Regions from separate parts of the Homo sapiens genome. Here all the other regions are linked to region 1. Evidence: promoter capture Hi-C in 16 types of primary human blood cells and fetal thymus (Javierre and others, 2016). All regions are on one chromosome and are shown on one strand. The core of a region is centred on a gene start or on the middle of the fragment in contact, and the rest is flanking DNA. Distances in the headings are between cores, read along the strand shown. Region 1 holds the start of FAM171A2 (family with sequence similarity 171 member A2). Region 2 overlaps HDAC5 (histone deacetylase 5). Region 3 overlaps G6PC3 (glucose-6-phosphatase catalytic subunit 3). Region 4 has its middle 18 kb from the start of LINC01180. Region 5 overlaps MEIOC (meiosis specific with coiled-coil domain).

Evidence for each region. Contacts are between HindIII fragments. The CHiCAGO score rates a contact against its expected background, and 5 or more counts as called.
Region 2: a fragment that was not itself captured here is called in contact with the fragment with the promoter of FAM171A2 in region 1 in 1 of 17 cell types (neutrophils); the score reaches 7.0 in neutrophils.
Region 3: a fragment that was not itself captured here is called in contact with the fragment with the promoter of FAM171A2 in region 1 in 1 of 17 cell types (neutrophils); the score reaches 5.6 in neutrophils.
Region 4: a contact is called between a fragment that was not itself captured here and the fragment with the promoter of FAM171A2 in region 1, in 1 of 17 cell types (endothelial precursors). The highest score is 5.7, in endothelial precursors.
Region 5: a contact is called between a fragment that was not itself captured here and the fragment with the promoter of FAM171A2 in region 1, in 1 of 17 cell types (endothelial precursors). The highest score is 5.6, in endothelial precursors.

The regions. Positions count from the first base shown.
Region 1 is chr17:44,362,408-44,365,107 of GRCh38, forward strand. FAM171A2 (family with sequence similarity 171 member A2) reads right to left here and starts at 1,446. Exons shown (of 8, transcript NM_198475.3): 1 at 1,190-1,446. The coding sequence starts at 1,307. It also overlaps the pseudogene RPL7L1P5. RefSeq lists a silencer at 1,158-1,537. The HindIII fragment of the contact is 8,364 bases long and covers 1-2,700 here.
Region 2 is chr17:44,095,072-44,097,771 of GRCh38, forward strand. All of the region lies in intron 3 of HDAC5 (histone deacetylase 5), which reads right to left. Among named protein-coding and RNA genes, the nearest start is that of G6PC3, 26 kb to the left of the region's middle. RefSeq lists an enhancer at 289-1,049. The HindIII fragment of the contact is 2,335 bases long and covers 221-2,555 here.
Region 3 is chr17:44,075,958-44,078,657 of GRCh38, forward strand. G6PC3 (glucose-6-phosphatase catalytic subunit 3) reads left to right here. Exons shown (of 6, transcript NM_138387.4): 6 at 1-387. The coding sequence ends at 86. HDAC5 (histone deacetylase 5) reads right to left here. Exons shown (of 27, transcript NM_005474.5): 26 at 2,543-2,700; 27 at 796-2,458. The coding sequence ends at 2,419. Among named protein-coding and RNA genes, the nearest start is that of G6PC3, 6.6 kb to the left of the region's middle. RefSeq lists enhancers at 1-51, 1,069-1,608. The HindIII fragment of the contact is 3,690 bases long and covers 1-2,700 here.
Region 4 is chr17:44,631,275-44,633,977 of GRCh38, forward strand. No RefSeq gene overlaps it. Among named protein-coding and RNA genes, the nearest start is that of LINC01180, 18 kb to the right of the region's middle. The HindIII fragment of the contact is 850 bases long and covers 872-1,721 here.
Region 5 is chr17:44,674,389-44,677,141 of GRCh38, forward strand. It overlaps MEIOC (meiosis specific with coiled-coil domain), which reads left to right. Exons shown (of 8, transcript NM_001145080.3): 8 at 1-1,413. Among named protein-coding and RNA genes, the nearest start is that of CCDC43, 14 kb to the right of the region's middle. The HindIII fragment of the contact is 767 bases long and covers 895-1,661 here.

The DNA of each region.
Region 1 (2,700 bases), core at 196-2,695:
CTCAGTCCAGGAGGAAATCCGACCCCCTCCCTTCATCCGGACCCCACTTCCCTCATCCAGACCCCCCCACTCTGCTTTTCCTGCCAGCTCCTTAGTGTGGGGGGTGAGGAGTGAATACTGCTTCAGGCAGGGATGGGGCCCACAGGCAGGAGAGGGAGAGCAGGACCCGGGAGGTGGACTCAGGACTGGAGTGGGCGGAGGCCCCCAAGCGTCCAGGCCTGCCTGTGGGATGTGTTGTCAGGGTCTTGCTCCCCCACCCTTTCCTGCTGCAGGAGCCGGCCCCACCCCCACCTCACACACCCACCTGCGCCCGGTGAGTCGCTGGGAAGGGTCTCCTCCACTGCGAAGATGTGAGATGAGGAGGGGGTGATATGGGGGCGGGCAGGGGACAGGAATGCCAGGAGGCCTGCTGAATGGGGGGGGACCCAGGCACCTGCCCTCCCAGCCGGCACTGCCCACAGCCAGCTAGCTCAGCATGGCTCCACGACCACAAGCCTGCCATGCTCCCTCAGCTGGGAATCACAATGTACCCCCTTTTCTTAGAGGCCCACAACTGCGGCTCGTCCTCCATCATAGGCTCACAAGCATTTATTTGGTGCACCCCAAACTCTAAACCAGGGGGGCTGGCTGGGAGCTGTCAGGCTCCAGGGCAAAGAACCCCATTAGAGCAGTCAATCCCGCCCACAGCCTCACCCACTCCCCCTTCTCCCCTCCCCCCTTCAAACCCAGCTCCAGGCTCCCAGCCTCCGGTCCCGGCCTAGGGTGGCAGCGGATGCCGGCGCCCCCACCCCGCCAGGGTCGGGAGCGAGCAACCCGCAGGGGGCTGCGGAGCAGGCGCCCGCCCCAGCCCGCCCCTGGGCGGGTGTCTTCGGTAGACAATGGCTCAGGCAGCAGCGCCTCGCGGACCAGGAGGGAGAAAAACAAATAGGGAGAGGGCGGCGGCGCAGATCCTGGGGACCCTCGCACTACCCATTGTGTCTCCCCAAGACCCCCGCCCCGGACGGCCTCCCTCTCCCCGCCTCCACTTTCCCCCAGAAGCGCCAACCCCAGATCGCTTAGCTCCCCCCACCCGAATCCAGGGAACAGAATACCACTCAATTCACGAACGCCGCGAAGAGGGGGCTGACGGGCGGGAGCCTGATCAGGGGGCGCAGGCCCGCGATCGCGGCCCCTCCCGGCTGAGACTCACCCTGCGGGCTGGGGGGCTCCGGCGGCGACTTGCCGGGAGCCCGGGAGGCGCTGCCGAGCAGCAGCCCCAGCAGCGGCAACAGCCGCGCGAGGACGCTGGGGCCACTCGCCGGCGGCATCGCGGGGCTAGGCCGGGCCCTAGCGGTCCATGGCTCCCGCCTGGTCCCGCTCGCCCGGCCCCGCGCAGCCCCAGCTCTGCGCCGCGCCTCGCAGCTCCGGCTCCCGCTCCCGCTGCGGCGCCCGCTCAGCGCGATTGTCTCCGACCGGAGCCGCCGCAAGCGCCCCCTGCAGGCGGCGCGCCACACCGCTGGCCCTCCGGCACCGCCCCCTCCCGGCCCCGCTCCGCCCGCCGCCCCCCGGTACTGCCCACCTTCAGCCCACCCCGCAGCCCCCGCGCTCTGCGCTCCCAGACTCTGCGCTGCAAAGGAGTGTCGGGATTAGGGTCCCATCACCCGGGTTCTTGGGTTTCGAGAGTCCCCAAAATTTGGTGCAAAATTTGTGTGTGTGTAGGTGGGGAGTGGATATTGCCTACAACACTCTCAAGGGGTACGGTCATGAAAGTCTCAGAAAACTGTAAGAACTCCCTGCTCGATGGCCCCCTTCTCCCGGTAGAACACCTAGGCAGTGCTGGGGTGATAGCAGGGAAGGCCCCCTAGACCCCCCTAAGTCTCTCTTTTTTTTTTTTTTGAGACAGATTTTTTTTTTTCAGAGACAAGTGAACATTTATTTTTGGGCCTTTCTTCCTATTTCAAGTCTTTTTCAAAACAAGGCCCCAAGAATCTCCAAATTCAATTATGTCCCTGGGCTTGGCCGACTGGTGCAGGAGTCTTAGGGAGCCTTGTACAAATGCTAGAGTTACTCACTTACCGACATTAAACTAAAACGCTGGAATTTTTCCTTGGAAACTGGACTGTGATTAGAGGTGCTTGCCATGAACATAAGCTACTGTTTCTTCTCCTTCTTTTTTTTTTTTTTTTTTTTTTTGAGAGAGAGTCTTGCTCTGTTGCCCAGGCTGGAGTGCAGTGGCGTGATCTTGGCTCACTGCAACCTCTGCCTCCCGGGTTCAAGTGATTCTCCTGCCTCAGCCTCCCAAGTAGCTGGGACTACAGGTGCACGCCACCATGCCCGGCTAATTTTTGTATTTTTAGTAGAGACAGCGTTTCACTATGTTGGCCAGGCTGGTCTCGAACTCCTGATCTCAAGTGATCTACCCGCCTCGGCCTCCCAAAGTGCTGGGATTACAGGCGTGAGCTTCTGTCTTTTCTTTGACCCTTCCTTTCCAGTTTTTGAAGATAAAGCTGGAAATAATCTTCTCTGAAGATACTTGATAAAAATTCCCAAAAAAACAAAAACACATGCTTCTACTACCCATGCTTCCACTTCATTAATAAAAATTTACTGCAGTTTGGCACCTGGGTCTAGTTCAGCTGGCGGATGAGCTGACTGATGCGTTCACCCTGATAGCCAGGTGTGCCCATCTCCTTGAGGAAGCCCACTGTATTTTTGGTAGCA
Region 2 (2,700 bases), core at 138-2,637, 270 kb before region 1:
GGCGTGAGCCACTGCCCAGCCTTCAACACATAATATTATCATTGATAGTCAACATCTCTGGGCATTTTACAATGACTCATTTAAATATCACAGTTACCCTATGACTTAGATGCTATTATTACCCCATTTTACTGATGAGGAAACTGAGGTTTAGAGAAGTTTAAGTAGCAACCAGACACAGCTAGGTGATCCAATAACTAGAATATGAGTCCAAATCCTAAGCTTTTAACCACTGTGCCCGCTCCCATTTCTCAACACCGTGCCCCATGCAAAGCCTCATACTAGAAGAGAAACTGAGGCACAGAGGTTGGTTCTAGGACTGACAGTGCCCTTGGTAACCCCAGGAGAGGCTGGTGGAGACCTTCTGGATATCTCTACCCTCTGTCCCCTTCTGGGGCCTCATCCCTATCTGGGGCAGACTGGGCAGGAGGGAGAGGCTGTGGGAATGGGGGTGGGGTGGGAACAGGAGGCCTCGGGGAAAGGGGGTGCAGGGCTGCACCAAGCCAGGGACAGGAGGGGGCTGGGAGTCAAGACTCGCTTCCTTTGCTGGATTATCTCCTTTCAACAGTTTTATTGTAATTACCCTGAAAATGCCGCTATATATAGAGTGAGCCAAACAGCAGCTGTGCCTGGGGGGAGGGGGAATAAGAGGATGGGCGGGCAGGCAGCAGGGAGGAGGTGGGAGGAGGAGACAGGAAAGGAAAGGGAATCAGACAGGAAGAAGGGTAACAGCAGGGGGAGGGCAGGAGCTTCGGCAGAGATCTCAGAACTCTGGTCTTACGGAGAACCGGCTGGGGAGAGGAAGGCTGCTGGGGAGGGGAAGGCAGTGGAGGGCCTGCTGGGTTCCAAGACCTTGGGTCCAGTCCCCACATGGACAATGGGCCGAGTGGCTCAGGGAGTGCACGAAGTTCCAATGGGCTTATGGGAGGGCTAGGTCTCCACTTCTTTGTACCTACACACAGTTCTCAGGTCACTGCATGTCACTCCTCACCACTGCCCTGTGGTTGCCAGGACAACTGGGCAAACACCACACCAGCAGGGAGCCCCAAGCCCAGCCCAAGCCCCACAAAGTCTCCAGCCAGGAAGGGGAAGGCAGGATACCACTGCCTGGGAAGGCGGAAGTGAGAGAGGCAGGCCAACCCATTCCTGTTTCTCTTCTACTTCTTTCTCCAAAGAAAGCCCTCACTCTCCTCGCTACAGCCCAGGGAGGTCACGAGGGGCTGGGAAGACTCCTGTGGCAAAGTGGCCCACTCCAGCCCAGGCCTGAGAAAAAAGGACCCCGAAATCCTTCTGGCTACCAGTATCTTCTGCCTTCATGAGCTGGCCTCTCTCCAGACCACCCCCCAGCATTAAGAGGCGAGAGAGGGAAAAAAAAAACAAAAAACAAGTTTTGGTTTTTTTTTGTTTTTTTTTTTTTTGGAGATGGAGTTTTGCTCTTGTCATCCAGGCTGGAGTGCAGTGGCACAATCTCGGCTCACTGCAACCTCTGCCTCCTGGGTTCAAGCAGTTTTCCTGCCTCAGCCCCGCAAGTAGCTGGGATTACAGGCACCCGCCACCACGCTCAGCTAATTTTTTTGTATTTTTAGTAGACACAAGGTTTCACCATGTTGGCCAGGCTGGTCTCAAACTCTTGACCTCAGGTGATCCGCTCGCCTCGGCCTCCCAAAGGGCTGGGATTACAGGCATGAGCCACTGCCCCTGGCCTTTTTTTTAGATGGAGTCTCACTGCAACCTCCGCCTCCTGGGTTCAAGCAATTCTCCTGCCTCAGCCTCCCAAGCAGCTGGGATTACAGGCGCCCACCACCAGGCCTAGCTAATTTTTGTATTTTTAGTAGAAACGGGGTTTCACCATGTAGGTCAGGCTGGTCTCGAACTCCTGACCTCAGGTGATCCACCCGCCTCGGCCTCCCAAAGTGCTGGGATTACAGGCATGAGTGACCACACCCAGCCGAACAATTTTTAAAGAGAAGAGAGGGAGGTGGGAGGTAGGAGGTGGCAAAGGGTGGGCTAAGAGAGGCCCCCACACCTGTTTAGATGGGTCTGGATCTCTCCAGAGAACCTAGCACTGAATGGGTGTCACCAAGGCAGGAGCAAGGCCTGCTGGAGGCCGAGGCCAAGGCCATGCCACCCACATGCCTGGAGTATGGCCTCTGGAACCCCCTGCAGGCAGGGTGGGGTGGGAGAAGGTAAAAGCTCAGCATGATGTAGCAGTCCCCACCAGCCTCTTCTCCCCCAGGCATGGTTGGGAACATTCCTCTGTGGTTTTCCCGCCAGCCATACTGACGACTCTGTGGCCACAAGGCCAGAGCCACATGTGCAGAAGTGGCCAGATGTGGCCAGAGGGTGGGGTTACACATACTCATCTTCATTCCCAACCCATGTCCTGCCCCAGCACCAGGAGAAAGGGTCCTTGGAAACTGCAGAAGGCCTTCCTGGAGGTAACTAGCCACAGCCCACGATGGTGGCAAGGAAATGGCAGCCAGCTCAGGTCTCCCCAGCCCGTGAAGTGCTCAGCAAGGCCCTGAGCTGGCCGGAGGGTTATCTGTTCTTAGTCAAGCTTGGCTTGGCCCGTGGCACTCTGATCACTCAGCCAAGCAATGGACAGCCGTCAACCTGCTGCTCCCGGCAATGCCGGGGTTGTAGGAGCCAGATTCCAGCCTGCCTGCCCAGGGAAGGGCAGAGGTCCAAGCACTCCTGGCT
Region 3 (2,700 bases), core at 1-2,500, 290 kb before region 1:
TCTGGCCATGCCTAGTCCTGGCCCTCGTGCCCTGGGCAGTGCACATGTTCAGTGCCCAGGAAGCACCGCCCATCCACTCTTCCTGACTTCTTGTGTGCCTCCCTTTCCTTTCCCTCCCACAAAGCCAACACTCTGTGACCACCACACTCCAGGAGGCAGCCCCATCCCCTTCCAGCCCCTAAGTAGGCCCTCCCCTCCCTAAATCTGCTTCCGCACCACCTGGTCTTAGCCCCAAAGATGGGCCTTCTCTCTCCCAGATAAGTTGGTCCTCCCTCTGCCTTTCCTCTCAAGCCCCCAAAGAGCAAAGGCAACAGCAAGACCAGCGGGTTCTTGCAACACTGTGAGGGGCAGCCAGGGCGGCCCCAATAAAGCCCTTGAATACTTTGAGATTCCTTTCTTGCCTATGCGCACATCTCCATGGGCCTTGCCTGTGTGTGCACAAGTGGAACCTTTGCCAGGCTGCTCCAGTAGTCTCTGTGCCATCTCCAGCCCTGTTTCCAGGGGCAGAGAGGCAGGAAAGGAGAGGGCTGTAAACTCAGGTGAGACCTCTCAGCCCTGGGTCCCCTGCCTCATCACTGCCTAGGCCACATGAGAGGTCCCATGAGATGCTGTGACTATATTCGGTATAACCCTGTCTTTTCACTTACAGGACAGATCTTGCGCCCCAACCTCCAGTTTCCTAAATCGGCTTCTAGTCCAGGGGCTGGAGAAAAGAGTAGTGTGTTTGGCTAGGAAGGAGGATGAGAACCTCTACTCCATTTGGGAGCCCAGAGAATAGAGACATTGGCCCCAGAAGGCACTGCCAGAAACAAGTTTATTTACACAAGGACACACAGTGTAACGGGTTACAAAATACTTAACTGAAATCCATATCCAGGGAGACAAAGCAAGGAGTGGGTTTACATGAGAACCAGACCAGCCACAGGGAGAGAGTGGGTAAGGGGCCGGGAGCCTGGGGCTCAGCACAGAGAGGCCTAGTACACTGAGCCTGGCCCCATCCCCATCCCCCAGGAGGATCTAAAACAAACACACAAGCACACTATGAACCGATGGTGCTGGGACTCCTGCCCCTCCCCTGGCTCCCTCAATCCTGCTCAGGCCCCCATAGGATAATAAATATGTAAACAGATTGGTGGGGCCCTGGAGATAGAAGGAGAGAAAGTATATGTGGTACTGGGGAGGAGGAGGAAGGAAGAGTCAGCCCCCTAGGAGCCACTTCCCATCTTTGGTTTCCTACAGGCTGGATGGCATCCCCTGGAAGCCTTGTAGGCCCACAGCCCCTGGCAGGGCTCCTGGGAAAGAGAAGGGACAGCGCCCAGCCCCCTCCTGGTCTTAGCTCCCTTGGGCTGGTGGTCAGCAAAGGGAGCCCAGAAGGTATGGAAGCTCCAGCTGAGAGCCGACTCCTGGATCCCTGGGTTCTGGCCTTACCCCTTCTAGAACCTCCATTCTCACCATCCCCAGGATCCAAAACAAAAGGCCCCAGGAGGGAGGTGAGCCTCTGCCCCTTCTCCCCGCAGCATGCTGGATGGCTGGGAAAATCTGGTCCTGACAGCAGGGGGGCTCTCACCAGCCTGGAGCCCCTCTGCAGGGACCACCTTCTCCCCTTGCCCAGGCTGTGCCAGCAGAGGGGCAGGGAGGCCATCCGAGTAAGGTGGGGAGCAGACCTGGTTCTGTTACTCCTCCTGGCCCCTGAGAACCCAGGAAACCAGTCCTCTCCTTCCCCACACACTTTCACCCTCTCAGCCCCGGGGAAGGGGAAGTAGGCTGTGAGGAGTGTGAGGCAAGACAGCCCTCCTCACAGACTGCAGGCCACAGCTTGGGCACCAGCCTCCCATCAGTGCTGAGACCAAGAGGAAGGAGGAGGAGAGGGGTCTGCAGAGATGGTGAGGACGAAAGAAGGGGAAAGGGTGGAGAATCGCAGGGTGGGTGCCCACCTCCCCTCCACTCTGCATCTTAAAGACAGTAGTGGATCCTCCAGATCCTCCCCTGAGGCTGGAGAAGGGAGGAGAGTGAAATTAAGGCATTTCCCCCCAAATCAGCTGAAACCAAGGCACCGACTTCCCGTTCCCTCCTCACTCGGGGGGCCCCAGAACTGGAGAGTACTGTCTGGGCCCCCGTGCCCACCTTGAGCTGGCCCAGGCTCCAAGGAGGAAAAGGACAGACAGAATGCAGGAAAATGGGGGGAGGGACACATGGGACAGGGCTGGGAAGACACCACCACCCCCTGCAGAGGGAGCAGGCTTCTAGAGCTGAGGTGGAAGCCACAGGGCTGGGGGCCTGAGGCAGCGTAGAGGAGCAGGAGGGGCAAGGCTGAGAGACCCACACGGCACACCTTGTTGAATGTGTGACTTTTTGTTTTTAATAGAAAAAATAAACAAAATCACAATGGTGAAGCCCAGAGGGATGGGGGCCGGGGCGTCACAGGGCAGGCTCCTGCTCCATGGGCTCCTCTGCCGGCCTGTGGGGCAAGCACAGGGGAGGGTATTGAGTGGGGCGCACCAGCAGGGGTGAGGGCAGAGAGGTGGTGCGGGTTGCTGCTTACCTGGGGCTGTGTTCCCGGGCTGCCGCAGCCTGGGCCTGCTCGGCCCCCACCGACAGCAAGGCCATGGCGCTCACAGTCTCGGCCTCCTCGGTCTCACCTGCTTGGGCCTCTCGCAGGGACCGGCCCAGACCAGCGGCGAACTTCTGCACACAGCTCCA
Region 4 (2,703 bases), core at 47-2,546, 270 kb after region 1:
GATTGGGAAGAGATGGAGCTCCCAGGCACTCACTGGGATTCTCTTCCTTAGGAAAATAATGTCTCCCATCCTTACAGTGGAGGCTGAGCCTGGATTCAATTCCATATTCTTGCTCCAGCTCTAGCTAAGGTGACAGTTATAACACGTGGGCCAGACAGTATGGGACTCCATCCGGCACACTTTTTTTTTTTTTTTTTTTTTTTTTTGGTGACGGGGTCTCCTCTGTTGCCTAGGCCAGACTGCAGTGGGGCAATCCCAGCTCACTGCAGCCTCGACTTCCCTGGCTCAAGTAACTGGGCTTAAGTGATCCTCCCACCTCAGCCTCTCGAGTAGCTAGGACCACAGATGCATGCCTAACGCCCAGCTAATTTTTTGTTATTTTTTGTAGAGACAGGGTCTCCCTATGTTGCCCAAGCTGGTCTTGAACTCCTGGACTCAAGGGATGCTCCCTACGTGGCCTCTCAAAGTGCTGGGATTACAGGCATGAGCCACCGTGCCAGCCCAACGTGGTTTACTATCTAGAACATAGTAAAGCGAGGAATTAACTTGATCCTTGATAGCTTGGCCAGGGCAGGAAGTAAGGTCACCTGTGAGAGAAGCAATGATTCTGTGGTGCTTCTTGAGTATCTCCATCATATACCTCAGCAGGAGGGCTTGGATGCTCCCTCTAGGCAAACATGACTATGACAATGAAGTAAAAACAAACCTGGATAACATGATGGGTGGGCTTTGATGGAGAAAGTATATGGAGGCAATATAGCATGTTAGAAAGTGCTGTGTAGTCAGACAAAACTGGGTTCAAAGCTTGGCTCTGACAATTAAGCCCAGGGACTTTAGGCAAGTCACTTAACCTCTGTGAATATCATCAGTAAGCTTCCGCTGCATGAGATTGTTATAAGAATTAAATAAAACCATTTGTAGGGTATGACAATTAATAGGCACTTAAATAAATGGCAACCAGTAGTGTCATATTATCTGAAAGTAAGATACAGTGTGTTGAAATTTCTTAATTCAACTCCCACTTAAATCATGCCCCAGACAGTCTCCTGACACGCTGATGAGGGTCTAATATGGAAATTTTGAAAGAAATCAATCAACAATAATTTGATGGGCATGTGATGGTACAAAGCCAGTGCCAGATGCTATGGATGGGTGGGCAGGGGAAAAGAAAAAAAAGTAGAGGGTTTGCAAGATTGTTCAAGGCTAGACACAGTGTCTCACACCTGTAATCCCAGCACTTTGGGAGGCTGAGGCAGAAGGATTGCTTGAGTCCAGGAGTTTGAGACCAGCCTGGGCAACATAGTGAGACCTCATCTCTACTAAAAATAAAAATAAAAAATTAGCTAGGCATGGTGGCATGCACCTGTAGTCCCAGCTGCTTGGGAGGTTAAGGCAGGAGGATTGATTGAGCCCGGGAGGTGGAGGCTGCAGTGAGCCTCGATTGCACCATTGCACTCCAGCCTGGGTGACAGAGAGATACCCTGTCTCAAAAACAAACAAAAAACATTAACAACAACAAAAACAAGGTTGTTCAAGAGACAACAGAAGTCATAGACACTTGAGAAGAATCACAAAGCAATTTAGCAGCAAATTTTCAGAATCCAAATTGAGTCTTGGGCTACTGGGGATGTAGAATCATGCTTGGAGGATGCAGACACCCTGCCGGAGGACGATCTAAATCTGGAAAACCTGTATGATTCTGAACTGGGACTTGATTTTTAAGCTTCCTTAATACCTGGTAAACCTGAAGCTTGGGATTTTATAACAAGTTTATTTTTTATGTGTTAAAAATGTGTGGAGAGGGTGAAATGGGAAAAACTGCCTAATGAATATAGAGTTTTGTTTTGGGGCGATGAAATGTTTTGGAACTAGATGGAGGTGATGGTTACATGACATTGTGAATGTGCTAAATATCACTGAATTGTTCACTTTAAAATGGTTAACTTTATGCTACAATTTCACCTCAATTTAAAAATTCATAGAAATTTAGAAATAGGCCAGGTGTGGTGGCTCACACCTGTAATCCCATCACTTTGGGAGGCTGAGGTGGGCGGATCACATGAGGCCAAGAATTTGAGACCAGCCTGGCCAACATGGCGAAACCCTGTCTCTACTAAAAATATAGAAATTAGTTGGGTGTGGTGGCGCATGCCTGTAGTCCCAGCTACTTTGAAGGCTGAGACAGGAGAATAGCTTGAACCCAGGAGGCACAGGTTGCAGTGAGCTGAGATGGCGCCACTACACTCCTGCCTAGGCGACAGAAAGAGACTTGGTCTCAAAAAAAAAGAAGTAAAAATAAAATTTTAAAAAAGCTATTTGGCTTGGCACAGTGGCTTACGCCTGTAATCCCAGCCCTTTGGGAGGCCAAAGTGGGCAGATCACTTGAGGTCAGGAGTTCGAGACCAGCCTGGCCAACATGGCGAAACACTGTCTCTACCAAAAAATAGAAAAGTTAGCTGGGCGTGGTGACGTGCGTCTGTAATCCCCGTTACTCGGGAGGCTGAGGCAGAAGAATCGCTTGAACCTGGGAGATGGAGGTTGCGGTGAGCCGAAATCACGCCACTGCACTCCAGCTTGGGTGACAGAGTGAGAGCCTGTCTCAAACAAACAAACAATTTTTAAAGGAGTACCCCTACCAGATATTAGAAATTTTTTTAACCTATGCAAATTAAAGCAATATGAGATTGGTACAGAAATAGGAAA
Region 5 (2,753 bases), core at 28-2,527, 310 kb after region 1:
GCAAAGGTACAGTTGACTACTCAGAGTTCTGAGTAGTCAGATAACAAGTTTAAGTAAATTAAATATTTCCTAACAGCTAAAATGTGCTTAAACTCATTCTGCCATGCAGGTAAATGCAAATGTGAAATTCTTCTAGGAGATAAATTTCATTTAGGTTTGTCTTAGTTAAGTATAATTCCAAATAATGAATCTAAGTGACTGTAACCCAATTACGGCTACAGCCTAGTAACCAAGACAAGTTTTGATTGTGATATCAAAGTGTTTTCCTTACAAAACTGGATAATACCTGGGAAACAAAGGAAAATACGGATAAACCCAATATTCATGTACAAACTTAATATTTAAAATACTATACTACCATATTTATAAATTTGGAATCTTAATGCCTAGGTATATGGAGGGAAATGCATCTGATTCTCCTAAATTAATGATAAAAGTGTCAGTGTAAAAACCATGCAAGTTACTGAATATAAAACCTATTCAGATCATTTGTGTATATTCTTTAAATTTTAATTATATTATCAATTGTTAAATGTTTCCAATTTTAAAGTTATTTAAATTGAATCACAAAACATTCCCTTTATCTGGATCTTTTAGACTTGATGCACAGTAACTGAAATAATGACTACTGTTTTAATACCCTTAGTTTGCTGCCTTTTATGAGGGTGTCACGAAGTTCTAAAATGTATTTTTTTAAAGGTTAATCTCTAACTAGTTTAGCTTGCAATTGGTTAGTGTATATTTTGTGTAGTTGTGTTCATTAGTTTGCTTCTAAGTTCTAAAATGTATTTTTTAAAGGTTAATCTCTAACTAGTTTAGCTTGCAATTGGTTAGCCTATATTTTGCGTAGTTGTGTTCATTAGTTTGCTTCTGTATTTTTTTAAAACTATTGAAAGCTTAACTTTTTCTGTTTCTCATCACTTAGTATCTTTGTATAGAACTTGAGTAATTTATTCGTTAATATGAAATGTTGGTATTATGTGACTCAGAAGATCTTGGGTTTTAACATTTCTAGCATGAGTTAAACTATAATGTACTGATGAAATTTAATTGAAATATCCTTGACTAGAAACACTGATGTTTTAAATGTTAGTGTTTTTCTTAGTTTTAGAAATTCTGGTATTAAAAAAAAAAAGAGTGTAATCATACCACATAAATTTTCTTTAGATGATGTGCAGAAGAAACTGATTGAGAATGCAAGAGTAACTGTAGGGAGAAACATTTTGATCACTGATATGCCTTAGAACTACCCAAATGAATTACATTGAGGGTAGTCAAATAAAATAGATCATCTCACCACAGTCACTGCATAGAAAGTGGTTAAGTTTAACATAAGACATGTTGGATGTTATAAAAACAAATACTGTACTGAATTTAGTCTCAGGAAAAAAATAAATTACTTTGTTGAAAACATTTGGTTTCATTTTTCTAAATTCATATGTTTCTAACCTTAAGAGTCACTCATATCAGAAAGTCAAATGAATTTCATTTAAGAACTTATACTAAGTTTTAGATTTCATTATTAACGCACAAGTAATAATGTTGGTTTATAAATCAATGCCATTCAGATATCCATGGATCTAACCAGATCTCCTTCAAAGATGAAATTTTTGCTCTATCTTTATGCTAATCCGTGTAAACCAGAATAAAAATTTTAGGGAAGCTTTTACATGATACTGGTCAGAAATGAAATACCAGTCCGTTAATAAGAACCAAACACTTAAAAAAATTCTTTGAAATATTGTTAATCATATCACCCAATAGATAATTTTTAAATTAGTCGGTTGTCCCTTTCAGTGGCATATCCTCTAACAGATGGTTCTTATGTACTTGTATTTCTGAATTACAACCTATAAAACATTGTACTTCTGAATTACAACCTATGAAAACATTATAAAACTTTTACAAAATTTGCAGTGAAACTGATAAAACTGATGCTCCCGCCATTTCTAATCTGAAAGAACTTGGTGTACTCATTCTTTTTAATGGAAAAAGCAAAATTACCTTGAGTTGTTATCAGTGTCCTTCTCACTTGAATAATCTGCTACTATAAAGTTTTAGAGGGTTGAGAATTTATGACTGAAATCCAAAATCTGGCCTAAAACTCAATCTTACCATAGAAGATATGGTTGTTTAAAATTTGCCCTTTGCAGCTGGGTGCCGGTGGATCACGCCTGTAATCCCAGCACTTTGGGAGGCTGAGGCGGGTGGATCACGAGGTCAGGAGATCGAGACCATCCTGGCTAACACGGTGAAACCCCATCTCTACTAAAAATACAAAAAATTAGCTGGGTGTGGTGGCACTCGCCTGTAGTCTCAGCTACTTGGGAGGGGGAGGCAGGAGAATCACTTGAACCCGCAAGGTGGAGGTTGCAGTGAGCCAACATGGCGCCACTGCACTCCAGCCTGGGTGACAGAGTGATCCGTTTCAAAAAACAAACAAAAAAAATATGCCCTTTGCAATACTGAACATTTTAGACGTAAAGGATTTATTAGCACCTGAGTCAAGTGGATAACTAAACTCAAAGCCTAATGAGCTGATCCTCTATTTTCTGTTTAAGCATTAGTTTGAGAGTATACTTAACTGTGACATACATAGCAGAGTCCCAGAAGAAAGAACTGACTACTAACAAATTGAAACAAGTACCCTTCAGGGGACCGTGGATATAACCTGACTCCTTCAGTGACAAAAATCAAGGTGAGAACAACCCAAAATCCCAAAATAAGGATTACTAAATTAAAATAGGCTCTAT